2 separate regions of the Homo sapiens genome follow, and region 2 is linked to region 1. Evidence: promoter capture Hi-C in 16 types of primary human blood cells and fetal thymus (Javierre and others, 2016). All regions are on one chromosome and are shown on one strand. The core of a region is centred on a gene start or on the middle of the fragment in contact, and the rest is flanking DNA. Distances in the headings are between cores, read along the strand shown. Region 1 holds the start of NFAM1 (NFAT activating protein with ITAM motif 1). Region 2 overlaps WBP2NL (WBP2 N-terminal like).

Region 1 (6,998 bases), core at 2,845-5,344:
CCTCGAAAGTCCTTTATTGGGATTTAGACAAAGATGAAAAACAGAGGCTACTCCTGACAGAGGTCCGGAGCGGCGGGAAGGGAGGCAGGAGGTCTCAGCCGGGAGCAGGCAGGGGCTCCTGAACATCTTTTTTTATTATTATTACTTTTTTGAGACAGAGTCCTGCTCTGTCACCCAGGCTGGAGTTCAGTGGCACGATCTCAGCTCAGTGCAGCCTCTGCCTCCCAGGTTCAAGCAATTCTCCTGCCTCAGCCTCCTGAGTAGCTGGGATTACAGGCGCACACCACCTGGATCCAGAACAAACTTGTCTGGTAACTCCGGCCAAGGCTCACGGTCCCACCAGGCTGAGAGTGGGGCCTATGGCTTGTTCACGTCTGGGTCCCTCTGGTGCCTAGAACCGGTCCTTTTCAATGGATATGTGAGAAATAAATACAGCCCAGAGTTCTGGAAAGGCCACAGAGAGGGGACTGACATTTGCAGAGGACACTAAGGTGCAGAGAGGTTAAGTAATTGCCTGAGGTCACACAGCTGTCACCAGAAGAAGGCAGGCCTGGAACTCAGGTCTGTCCAGCCCCAAAGTCCTTGGGGAGGACTGAGGCCCATGGAAGCTGAGTTGCAGCTGCTCCTGGAAAAGCCAAGCCCCCAGCAATTCCTGTCTTGGGGAGACCACCAGTGGCTGCCTTTGAGAAAAGCAGGCTTTGCAGAGGGGTCAAGAAGCCAGAGGACAGGCCCAAGTCCCGGCTCAAGTGGGAGGAGGAGGATGGCTGGGAGCAGGAGCAGGTACCCAGGATGAGCTGGAGGCCGTGGGCTCACCAACTGCACCTCAAGTTTCCATGGCTCTGGCGAGGCTGGCAGGTGGCTGACACTCACTGAGGACTAATGACATACTGGGCACTCAGTCCTCAGGATGTGTTTAGGCAGGCAGTGTTATCACATCCATTTAACAGAGGAGACAATTGAGGCATAGCGATAGAAGTAATCTGCCCAGGGTGCCTGGGCAAGTAGCAGAGCTCAAATTCAAACTGGGCCGGGTGCGGTGGCTCACGCCTGTAATCCCAGCACTTTGGGAGGCCAAGGTGGGGGGATCACCTGAGGTCAGGAGTTCGAGACCAGCCTGGCCAACACGGTGAAAACCTGACTCTACTAAAAATACAGAAATTAGCCAGGCATGGTGGTGGGTGCCTGCAATCCCAGCTACTCAGGAGGCTGAGGCAGGAGAATCGCTTGAACCTGGGAGGCGGAGGTTGCAGTAAGCCGAGATGGTGCCACTGCACTCCAGCCTGGGCAACAGAGCGAGACTCCGTCTCAAAATAAATAAATAAATAAAAAATCAAACTGAAGATGAATGCCCCTGGCCTGTACTCCTAAGCCAGCATCCTCTCGCAAGTTCAGGGATACGATGCAGAATCAGGGACGCTGGCCTTCAGTGACACCCCTGTGGACACAGCTGAGGGATGCAAGCTGGGTTGGTACTGACAGGTGGCAGAGCTGGTTGCACCAGGCTGATGGTTAAGGCTGATGGTTACGGTCAGGGGAGGTTTGGAAGATGTGGGAGGGGCAAGATTCCTTCCAGCAAACCCTCAAAGCTCTGAGACGAGAAGGCAGGGGTGTGACATGGAGTGACAGATAGATGAAGGGGGATGCACAGGGGTAGGACAAAGAGCGGGTTGGGGGTTGGGCACAGTGGCTCACGCCTGTAATCCCAGCACTTTGGGAGGCCAAGGCGGGTGGATCACCTGAGGTCAGGAGTTCGAGACCAGCCTGGGCAACACTGTGAGTCTCTATCTCTACGAAAAAATTTAAAAAATAGCTGGGTGTGGTGGCACACGCTGTGGTTCCAGTTATTCGGGAGGCTGAGGTGGGAGGATCATTTGAGTGAGGGAGGCAGAGGTTGTAGTGAGCTGAGATTGCACCACTGCACTCCAGCCTGGTGGACGGAGCGAGACCCTGTCTCAAAAAAATAAAAACAGGACGGGCACAGTGGCTCACGCCTGTAATCCCAGCACTTTGGGAGGCTGAGGCGGGCAGATCACCTGCGGTCAGGAGTTCAAGACCAGCCTGGCCAACATGGCAAAACTCTGTCTCTACTAAAAATACAAAAATTAGCTGGGCATGGTGGTGGGCACCTGTAGTGCCAGCTACTCGTGAGGCTGAGGCAGGAGAATCACTTGAACCCAGGAGGCAGAGGTTGCCGTGAACCAAGATGGCGCCATTGCACTTCAGCCTGAGTGACAAGAGTGAAACTCTCAAAAAAAAAAAAAAAAAAAAAAATCATGGGTGGGGGTTTGTCTGCTGCTCCAAGGGACTCTAGGACACCGTAAGGGTGTTTTCACCTCTTGTGAAAGAACAGTTTCTCTTTTATGTAATGTTTGTTGCAATACCGGGTGGGAGGGGGTGGCACTGGGAATGTTTTGTTATAGTTGAGACTGTTACAAAAGAGCTTTTCCCCAGTAGCACCCCATAAAACCTCTTACTGCTCGGTTACCAGGGTGTGCTGGGTGTCTTTTGGGGAGGAGGAACCACACAAAGGGAAAGGATGGGAATTGGGGGGAAATTAAATTAAAAATGACTGTAGTTGAGACACATTGACACTAACAGGCTGCATTTCCGGGGTCTGGCCGTGTTTGCACCAACTGTCTGGGGTGTGGGGCGAGGCGTGCACAGGATTAAAGGAGATGGTGTCCTAGGGCTCTGGGCTGCAGCCTGGGGAGGTACACACAGGTCAGCCTTTGCCTCCCCAGGGTAAGTTTCCGGTGAAGAACATTCTTTACAAGTAAGAGGATCCTCTGAGCCTACTGGCCGAGGGGCCCAGCTTGGGGCTGAGGCTGGCCTGGGGCTGAGGCTGGCCTCTACTTACCGGCTAGGTCTTGAGCAAACGAACTGGCTTCCCTGGGCCTCCTTTTCCCTGTCCTTAAAATGGTGCAGGTGAGGACAATAGGAGCCCCAAGGGGTGCTGTGAGGGTGGCCAGTACGTGCCCTGCTAAGGGCTCCATAAAGCCTAATTTGTGGTCATGAGAGGGGGTGCAGCAGGACAGGGTGGGGGCAGCTCTTGAAAGCCCCATAAACTAAGAGAATAGAAAGGAAGGCACCCTGTCTCCACAGTGGAGGCCACCCCTTTGGCCAGAGGGAGGGTTGGCTGCTGCCCGGCCAAGGAGGGGCAGAGAGAATCTGGCAGAATTCACTGAGCCCTCGTGCTGGCAGCCCTGGAATGGGACCCTCCTGGGCCGTCCCTGGCCTGATGAACTGGCCCTGAGGCTACCTACCCCACAGCTTGGCTCGGATCCCGGCCACCCAGCTTCCAAGAAAGCCTGGAACCAGGAAAGGAGCGCCGCTGGCGTGGAAAGACACACTTGCATCCTAAAACACTTGGCCTCTGGTTGTGTTTCAGGAACTGGGAGGTGAGACCCTTTCTGGTGACTGACAGTTTTGTGCCTCTGGGCGCAGAGCCCTGTGGCTGGCCCTGGTATCCCCCCCTCCCCCCTCTCCCCGCTCTCCCTGGCCAATGCCAGCAACAACCCAGAGGGTAGCCCCACCACTTGCCAGGTTCAACGCAGTGTCCCCCGCAGCAGCCACGTGAGGTTCCTCGGATGGGGAGCTGTCCCTCCCCCCTGCCCCGCCCCTGGCCCCAGCCACACAGCGCCCACCCTCCTTGTTTAAGGGCCAGGAGGCCAGACTGCTGGGGCAAAGCTGTCACAGCAGCGAGGGAGAGAGCGCTGTCCCCCTCCCCTTCAAAAGCCACCTTGGCAAGGCATTAGCTAAACATCTTCTCGGTCCCAGAAGGCTTCCCCTGTGAAGTCTGCAGCGTTCAAACGACAACCAGCAAATCCCCAGAGACAGGTCCCTGGGAATTAGCTGCGCCGGGCGGGATGAAAGCCGCTCTGATGTTCTGGAGCGAGAGAGTAGAGAGAAGGAGGAAGACAGACACTACCTGCCAGTCGCAGGGTCCCGGGCAGCAGCAGCACGCCAAGGAGGAGCCAGGGGGCTGCGGGGAGCCCAGGAGGGCGTGGGAGGCCTGGCAGGGCCCGCCACCTCACAGGCTGGTTCTCCATCTGGGGGCCTGCTTGTCTGCGGCGACTCTTTAGTTCACAGGAGGGGACGGCCGGCGCTGACAGCTTCCCCTTTGCTTTCCCCACGAAGCTCCTCCCTGGCAGCCCCTGACCTTCCGCTCAGAAGCAAAGCTGGAACAGCCCAGCAGGGTGGCCGCCAGATGAGGAACCTGGCACTGAGACTGGTCCAGGCCACACAACCAGAAGAAGAGCTGGAGACGGGACCCAAGCCTCCCCACTCCAACCCCTGGTGGGCTTCACCCTGTCTCGGCCCCTTTCCAGCAGGGGCCCCGTCCAGGAGACACTGGTAACTGTGCAGAGGGATCATGGGATTTCCATGAGTGACTTCGGGCCTTGGTTTAGCCTCTCACTTCTGAAACACTTTTAAAACGACCACAAGCATGTTCACACAAACTTCTCTAAAATATTCTGAGAATCCCTTAATAATGTGTTTACCAAAGGTAGGTTTTTTGGTGAGGGGTGGTAGGGAGGCTGGGGTGAAGGGCAGGAGCCTCATGTTCCCAGCCCTAGAGAGGGCCAAACACCCAGGGCAGGTGAAAGGCAGGCTGCCCATCATTCACCCAGCGAGAACCTCTGTGGGTCCCCTGCAGAGGCCCAGGAGACGCCTCCTCTCTGGTCCATCTCTAACGTCAGCTCCTCCCTGTGGCTGCCCTAAAGCTTAGCTCACTCGGCCTCCCAACTGTGAGACCCTCGAACTGCTTCCCCATTGGCTGCAGGTCACAGCCCCTGCTCTCACTTCTAGCAGCATCAGCCGGGGACAGGAATTGTTTGCTGCCGGGACCCCCTTCCCCAGCAGACTGGGAGCCCCTCACCCTTGGCACCCACACATCTGCCTGCGTGTCTGGAGTGGCAGAGGAAAGGGGCTGGGGTGTGGTGATGGCTGGTGGAGCTGGAGGCACCTGGTACATGGAAGACGCAGGCGGGAAGGTGGCTGAGTTTCAGCGCATGCTGAGCGCTTACCTCCCTTCTCTGCAGGTGTCCCTTCACTCACCAGATAAATGTGATGATCCCAGTTGTACAAAAGAGAAGACCTCGGCCCCAGGAGGCAAAACAACATGCCTAGGATCAGGGCAGGTCTGTGGGGCGGGCATTTGAACTGCCAGTGGTATGATGTCCGAGCCTTCTCCCACCCTGCTACTGCCTGCTCAGGTGTGTCCAGCTGCAGCCCCCGGTGACGGCATCATGAGATCCATTTCAGTTCTTTGCACACATGCTTTTCCCTGGGCTGCTCCAAACATGAACAGTGAAAGCCTAAAGACGTTTCCACCAATGCCACGAGCACTGGGAGGCTGGCAAGAGCAGGGGCCGCCCACCAGGGGAGGAAGACATATGAACAGGAGAAGTTTCCTACCGCGCAGGGGGCAGGCGGGGACCCCAGTGTTATTGACTGTTGATCCATCACAGTGATACATGCTCACATATGTCACAGTGAGATGCAGACCCGCTGCTTCACGCTATTCCTGGCTCCTGGGAGTAGCAGGTTGTCTAAGCACCTTGATGCCATGGTGATAGACCTCGTGTCAATGCCTCAGGGTACACGGGGAGCATTGGAAAAGCATCGGTCTGTGCCTCTACAAGTCTCATTACGACTTGGCACTGGGAGGCAGCTGAATGCCAAACTGCCTCGGAACAAGGGAGCCTGCTCTTCCAGCCCTGGTGCCGCCTCCGCTCCTGCCCCTGTGCCAGCTCACTGACCCTACCTCTCAGCCTGTCACGGTGCCCCCCACACCCCAACTCTGTACCTCGGACTCCCGGGAGTTCTGCCGCCTCTGAGTCTGGGTCTAGCCTGCTGCACACCTGGTTTCCACGCTTGCCTGCCTGAGCTGCCTGTCTTCCTCCCCTCTCCTTCTTGAGCCTGGCCCAGGGGGTGCAGGAATGGACGGATGGGTGAGCATAAGGCAGGGAGAAGCCTTCCTCCAGGCTTGATATGAAGGCAGGTGCCCAACACCACGCTGGTGCACAAGAGGCCTCAAGGGAAGGGGTAGCCTCTGGGAGGCAGGGTGGGAGGAGGCGTGCATACTCCCCAGGCAGGCCCTGGGCTGTGGAGCGCAGACATGACTGGACAAGAAGCAGCTGAGGGTCCCAGCTCATTGCCCAGTTTCTGAGACGCTCTGCAGCCACGCAGCCTCCTGGGGAGAGGCAGGGACGCACCTTGGCAAGGAGCCCAGCAGCCCTGGCTGCGCTGTCGGGGCCTCGTGTCTGGCCCTGATCCTCCTCGGGAGCCAGGGGGATAGAAATAAAACCGCAGCGCATCCAGGAGCCTCATTTCTACCAAAACTTTCTAGCACCTCTCATGTGCTTCCTCTCCTGTGCCCTCAGCCAGAGCTGTGAATAAACAGTAAAGGCCCCAAAGGCTGAAGGCGGAGCAGAGGAATGAGGAGGCTCTGTGGGTGTCCCAGGGGCAGCTTCAGTGGCACAGCCTTCGAGCTAGGCCTTGGCAGCTGAATTTGCAGGTGAGGTCCCTGGGGACCACACGTCTCAGCCACTGGCTTTTGCCCAGACCTCCGTCCATTCCCCGTTTATCCGTGCATCTATGCCTCACAGTATACTGAACACCTGCCCTGCCCTGGGCCCTGGCCTCACGGAGGCTGTAGAAGTGAAAGAGCCTAGCCTCCCTGGGAAGCCTAGGGGCACGGCAACCTCAGCAGAGTGAAGCAATAATAGAGCAGTTCCGGGAAGCTTCCAAGCGCCTGACACTGCTCCAGGGGACCTGCTCTCCTTGCCAGTTTAATCCTCACTGCAGCCCTATGGGGCAGGCACTCTAATCACCTCCATTGTACAGATGAGGAAACTGAGGAACAGGGAGGTTAAAGTAATTTCTGAGTGGCAGCCCTGAAGGAGGTGGAAGCTGGGTGGGGAAATGGGGGAGCCCAGGTGTCCCCTGCAGTCCCCAGGGGCCTCCTCGACACCAAGACTAAGGCTTTCCAAATG
Region 2 (6,550 bases), core at 3,447-5,946, 410 kb before region 1:
CTCAGCCTCCCAAAGTGCTGAGATTACAGGTATGAACCACCGGACCCGGCCGGAAATGTTTTTGACAAATGCCTCCCGGTAGCCTCATCAGTCCCGGGAAAATTACAAATTAAATACATGCCCTTTGAGCCGGTCCTTCAAGGAGCCACCAGACAAGTCAAACTACAATTTTTAAAAATAAGTGTGTTCTGCTCCCTCCAGTACTTCGTATCTATCATGGGAATATAGATTGTTGTCTTCAAAGCTGCTGCCAAGCTAGTAGTGGGGGATGATACCAGGGTAGGTTAAAATGTCATAAAGCTTACTTACTGAGATTTGGCTTTTTAAAAAAATTACTTAAGCATTCCCCTAGTTACCATAAGCTTTTGATTAGATTCTAGAGTTCTGAAAAAGTTGATTCTGACAGGTTTTCTTTTGCTTTATTTATTGCTTTTATGGCTAGACTGACATTTAAAGATTCCCATTCCACAGTTTTTTGCTAATGTCCTGTATTTTCATAGTCTTTTAAAAATCCTCCCCTTTTAATCTGCACATTACCACCCTAGTTCCAGTTTTTACCTTGCATCAGGACTATTTTAGGAATTCTTAAACTGATCCCTCTGATACACTACCTTCTTGATTATGTGACTTTCCTGTTGAGAAATCTGAAGCTCACAGTTTCTCCTTGCCTATCAAATGATGTCTTTAAGCTGTAGTTCCAGCATAGCTTTCCAACTTTGTTTCACTGTTTCTCCTAACCTCACTTCCACACTGTGTTTTGATGAAGCCATACCACTAGGCTTCTCCCAAGTATGCAGTTTGCTTTCCATATCTGCTCCTGCACCTCCATGAATGCTGTTTGCTTCCCATCTGGATTGTCCTCTACCTTCACCTCTACCTACTGAATGCTACCCATCTCTCTCTCTCTCTTTTTTTTGAAACAGGGTCATACTCTGTTGCCCAGGGTGGAGTGCAGTGGATCACTGCAATCTGTGCCCCATGGCTCAAGCAATCTTCCCACCTCAGCCTTCCGAGTAGCTGAGATTACAGGCATGTACCACCATGCCTGGATACTTTTTGTATTTTAGTAGAGATGGGGTTTCACCATGTTGGTCAAGCTGGTCTCTAACTCCCCAAATGATCCGCCAGCCTCGGCCTCCCAAAGTGCTGGGATTACAGGCGTGAGCCACTGTGCCCAGCCAGAATACTACCCATCTCTTAATCAGCTCAAATTGCAGTCTTTCTATTAGGTCATTCCTAATTACTTCAACTAAAACGAATCTCTTCTTTCACTAAATTGCTATGACAGTTTGTTACTAATAAATGTATGACATACATTTATATTATGTATGTCATATATTGTTTGCATTATGATCTGTATTCATGCTTTCATTCATTCTTTTAATAACTATTTAGAGCACCCACTGTTTGCTAGGGCTAGAGTAGCAAAGAAGGCAGACATTGTACCTAATGATCATTATACATTGGTTACATATATCATTAAGAAAGAAAAGGCTGGGGGACTGGGTATGGTGGCGCATTCCTGTAGTCCTAGCACATTGGGAGGCTAAAGCAGGCAGATCTCTTGAGCCCAGGAGTTTGAGACCATCCTGGGCAACATGGTGAAACCTCATCTCTACTAAAAATACAAAAAAATTGGCCGGGTGCAGTGGCTCACGCCTGTAATCCCAGCACTTTGGGAGGTCGAGGCGGGCGGATCACCTGAGGTCAGGAGTTCCAGACCAGCCTGGCCAACATGGTGAAACCCCGTCTCTACCAAAAAATACAAAAATTAGCCTGGCATGGTGGCAGGCGACTTAATCCCAGCTATTTGGGAGGCAGAGGCAGGAGAATCGTTTGAACCCGGGAGGCGGAGGTTGCAGTGAGCCGAGATCGAGCCATTGCACTCAAACCTGGGGGACAAGAGCAAGACTTCTCTCAAAAAAAAAAAAAAAAAATTAGCCAGGCGTGGTGGTGCTTGCCTACGGTCCCAGCTACTCAGGAGGCTGAATGGGAGGATCACCTGAGCCCAGGAGGTGGAGGTTGGTGAGCAGAGATTATGCCACTGCACTCCAGCCTGGGCAACAGAGTGAGACCCTGTCTCAAAAAAAAAAAAAAAAAAGACAGAAGAAAGAGAGAGAGAGAAAAGAAAGGAAGGGAAGGGAAGAAGGAAATGGAAGGAAAGAAGGGAAGGGAAGAAGGGAAGGAAAGTCAAAAGGAAAGGAAAGAAAGAAGTGAGGGAAGGAGGGAGGGAGAAAGAGAAAGAAGAAATAAGAAAAAGAGAAAGAAAGAAAAGAAAGAAAGATAAAGTAAGAAAAAAAAGAACCCAGCAGGATTTGATGAGTGACAGTAAGGTGAGTCCAAGTTTTCCAGGTTAACAGTAAGGAGAGAGCACGACAGGCTGAGGGAACATGTCAGAGGGGGCTGGGGCAGTCTGCTGCCTTACTTTCTTTACCAGCGTCAAAGAACCATTTCTATTAGCACAGTGCTTTACACTTACCGCACAAGAAGTATAAGAATTAATGAACACACATTGAGAATAGGAGTAGGTTTGACAAGAAAAAGAATCCAATGATGAAGAGGGAGAAGAATAAGAGTAAATTGTCAGAGAATAAGATCATTTGAATTCCTTTTTATTTCAATAAAATAGTAGTAGTAGTAATAGTAGCAGTAGCAGCAGCTAATGTTTATTGAGTGCTTACTCTGGAAAAAAAAAAAAAAAAACTACATTAAGGGCCGGGCACGGTGGCATGCCTGTAATCCCAGCACTTTGGGAGGCTGAGGCGGGCGGATCACAAGGTCAGGAGATCGAGACCATCCTGGCTAACAGTGAAACCCCCATCTCTACAAAAATACAAAAAAATTAGGCAGGCATGGTGGCGGGCGCCTGTAGTCCCAGCTATTTGGGAGGCTGAGGCAGGAGAATGGTGTGAACCCGGGAGGCGGAGCTTGCAGTGAGGTGAAATCGTGCCACTGCACTCCCGCCTGGGCAACAGAGTAAGACTCTGTCTCAAAAAAAAAAAAAAATTGCGTTAAGAACTTTATGTGTGTCATTTTACATACATTCTTTATTGTGTGCCGTCTGTTCCTCATTTTCTACAGTCTCTTGAAGCGGTCTCCGAATGTGGAGCTCTCCTTCCCACAGCGATCAGAAGGCTCAAATGTCTTTAGTGGTAGAAAGACAGGAACATTGTTTCTCACTTCATACCGGGTAATTTCTACTTCTACTTTAATCTGCTGATTAACTCTACATTTGTTTTCCTTGAAATGAAGAAAACTTAAACATTGACTTTTGAAGTGTTTTTAAACGTGCGCTTTGGGATTTTCCACACTGAAGGGTGGTGGAAGAAAAGATGATGTTTCTCAGTTAGACCAGAATGCACCTTGCTCTTGTAAGTCTCAATCCATGGACAAATTCTGCATTCCTTTTCCAAAGTTTCTGTCCTTGCGTAGGTGATTTTCATAACTTCATGCTCCATCAGTGATCCCATGTTGTCTTTTATGATGCCATTTGATCTGATGACGAACCTCACTGTTGAACAACCAGTATTTGCTGCAAACTTCATTAAGGGAACTATTCAGGCAGCTCCATATGGTAAGTGTTCCCTCAGAAGTGTGTATTTTTTTTTCCCTCAAAATCTTCTAAAAGGTTTAAGATTCAAACTTGGCTCATGTTGAAATTCAAACAAAAGCTGCCCTACTTTGTCAGGTAGTGCTTCCCTTGGTGTTTGTGGCAGTCTTTCTGTTGTCAGCTATGCCAGTTTCTTGGTGAGTGTGTGCCATTTCTTCCCCCAGGTGGCTGGGAAGGACAAGCTACTTTTAAATTAGTCTTCAGAAATGGAGATGCCATTGAATTTGCCCAGTTGATGGTGAAAGCTGCCTCTGCTGGTAAGTGATGCTGATAAAGATATTAAGCACTTTGGGGTTTTTTGTTTGTTTGTTTGGGTTTTTTGTTGTTGTTGTTGCTGTTGTTGTTGTTTTGTTGTTTTTGAGACAGGGATTTTTGTATTTTTGTAAGTCGGGGTTTCACCATGTTGCCCAGGCTGGTCTCGAACTCCTGAACTCAAATGATCCTCTTGCCTCAGCCTCCCGAAGTGCTGGGGTTACAGGTATGAGCCACCATGCCCAGCCCACTTTGGGGTTTTAAGGCTTGTGGAATTAAAGCAGGACTTCTACTCAGCCAAGATTTGCTGGCCTTTGTGGCCAGGCAGTTGGTATTCGCACACATATTCAGCAGGCATTTCCTGGGCCTACCTACAATTGTCAAGTACCATGTTACAGGGTAGGAACACAAAGATTATTCAGTCCCTTCCTATCCTGAAGGAGCTTGCAATCTAGTGGGAGCTTACAGCCAGACACCCAGGTGACTAATTATACCTGATAGTCTTTTGTCCATTTAAACACTGACCTCAGATATCTACTGAGCGTCTCTTCCTTGGGTCAGGGAGCCCTTAGTTATTCTTTCTTTGGTGTGGCTTTTTAGTTTTTCTTCTCTCTGGACTTGCCTTTGCTTTTCTCAGGTTTAGTCCCCATCTTACATGAGAGGGGAGTAGAGGTACTGTCAAGACTTATAGCACTGATCTAATGGATGTACCACAGAACTCTTTCAAACTGTGACTACAAATAATTTTTTTATCTCATATATGTGTGTGTGTGTGTGTATATATATATATATATATATATATATATATATATATATATTTTTTTTTTTTTTTTTTTTTTTTTTTTTGAGACAGTGTCTTGCTTTGTCACCCAGGCTGGAGTGCAATCATGCAATCTTGGCTCACTGCAACCTCCACCTCCCGGGTTCAAGTGATTCTCCTCCCTCAGCCTCCCAAGTAGCTGGGATTACAAGTGTCCACCACCAAGCCCAGCTAATTTTTGTATTTTTAGTAGAGACGGGGTTTCACCATGTTGGTCAGGCTGGTCTCGAACTCCTGACCTCAGGAGATCCACCTGCCTCAGCCTCCCAAAGTGCTGGGATCACAGGCGTGAGCCAGCACGCCTGGCCGGTCCTTGCGATCTTTAACCCATGGCTTCCATGGCCTCTTTGTACAGCCAGCAGAGAAGGAAATAAAGATCTCCCCTGGGAAATTTTTATGGGCCAGGCCTGGAAACTGTCTACATTACATCTGGTCACATGCCATAGGCAAAACTCAGTGTGGTAGGCTGATAATGGATCCCCAGATATATCCCCATCCCAATCCTCAGAATCTGTGACTGTTACGTTATTTGTAAAAAGGGTGTTTGTAGACGTAATTAATTTAAGGATCTTGAGATGACAAGATTACCCTAGATTATTTAGGTGGCCTCTAAATGCCATCACAAGTGTTCTTATAAGAGAGATGCAGAGGGGAGACAAGACAAAAGTGTTTTCTTCGGTACCACACTTCCTCACATTGGTCTTTAATGGATATATCTTACCAACTTGGTAGAATCCTCACTTAGAAGTTTTTTCTGAATATCTGTTATGATTAGGTGCTATGCTAGGCCTGGAATAAGCACAGGCAAATGAGATACAATCTCTGCCCTTAAGACACGTGCCATTCAGGACAAGGGTCATATTTCTTTTCTTTCTTTCTTTTTTTTTTTTTTTTTTGAGACAAGGTCTTACTCTGTCACCCAGGCTGGAGGCTCCAGTGCAGTGGCACAGATAAGGCTCACTGCAGCCTCAAATTTCCAGGCTCAAGCAATCCTCCTGCCTCAGCTTCCTGAGTAGCTAGGACCACAGGCATGCACCACCATGCCTGGCTAATTTTTAAAAAATTTTTTGTAGAGATAGGGTCTTGCCATGTTGCCCAGGCTGGTCTTGAACTCCTGGGGTCAAGCAATCCTCCCATCTTGGCCTCCTAAAATGTTGGGATTACAGGTGTGAGCCACTTCACCCAGCCCATGTTTCTTTTTTATCTTGTGTCTCAAGAGCATTGTTGGAAACACATGTAAGGTGGTGATTAAATACTCTGTTAATTGTTTAGTTGATATCTGCTATATATCTGACTTAATTAAAAGAGTTCCTATTTTGCCAAATTTGTCTTTCCAGCTGCCCGAGGATTTCCACTTAGAACCTTAAATGACTGGTTCAGCTCTATGGGAATTTATGTAATTACTGGGGAAGGGAATATGTGCACTCCACAGATGCCTTGTTCAGGTAAGGTATGGCAGAGAGGTTCTTCCTGGAAGGTGGAAAATTATGCCAGAGGCTCAAAGATCTATCCCTTGCAGGCTTGCTCCCTGCAGGAGCAGCAGCAGAGCTTTAGGGGCTTGGAAAATGGTCACATCTGTGACTTTGTTTCCAGACTGAAACCCAGTGGCAAAGTCAGCAAGTGACTGGGCTTTGGTTTCAGGCTTACTTTTAATGATATATACAAACCTGGAACATACTTGGCAATCCTGTTAGTGGGAAGGGTCACTTCCTGTTTATAGCCTGAGCAGAAAATATATGCTCTTGCCCACTTCCTTGTTTCCATTTCACATAGCATAGTCATCATACCTGTGCCACACCCTTCAACCTTACTGAGGACTCGAGCCCTGGGTCCTTTAACAGTTTGTGTTGTTAAAGTCCACTGCTACT

The links. Contacts are between HindIII fragments. The CHiCAGO score rates a contact against its expected background, and 5 or more counts as called.
Region 2: a fragment that was not itself captured here is called in contact with the fragment with the promoter of NFAM1 in region 1 in 7 of 17 cell types (activated CD4 T cells, non-activated CD4 T cells, total CD8 T cells and 4 more); the score reaches 10.4 in activated CD4 T cells.

The regions. Positions count from the first base shown.
Region 1 is chr22:42,428,309-42,435,306 of GRCh38, forward strand. It overlaps NFAM1 (NFAT activating protein with ITAM motif 1), which reads right to left and starts at 4,095. Exons shown (of 6, transcript NM_145912.8): 1 at 3,929-4,095. The coding sequence starts at 4,049. The HindIII fragment of the contact is 8,354 bases long and covers 1-4,722 here.
Region 2 is chr22:42,016,230-42,022,779 of GRCh38, forward strand. WBP2NL (WBP2 N-terminal like) reads left to right here. Exons shown (of 6, transcript NM_152613.3): 2 at 3,082-3,190; 3 at 3,433-3,574; 4 at 3,775-3,867; 5 at 6,020-6,127. Among named protein-coding and RNA genes, the nearest start is that of WBP2NL, 21 kb to the left of the region's middle. RefSeq lists enhancers at 1-1,133, 332-1,897. The HindIII fragment of the contact is 8,673 bases long and covers 361-6,550 here.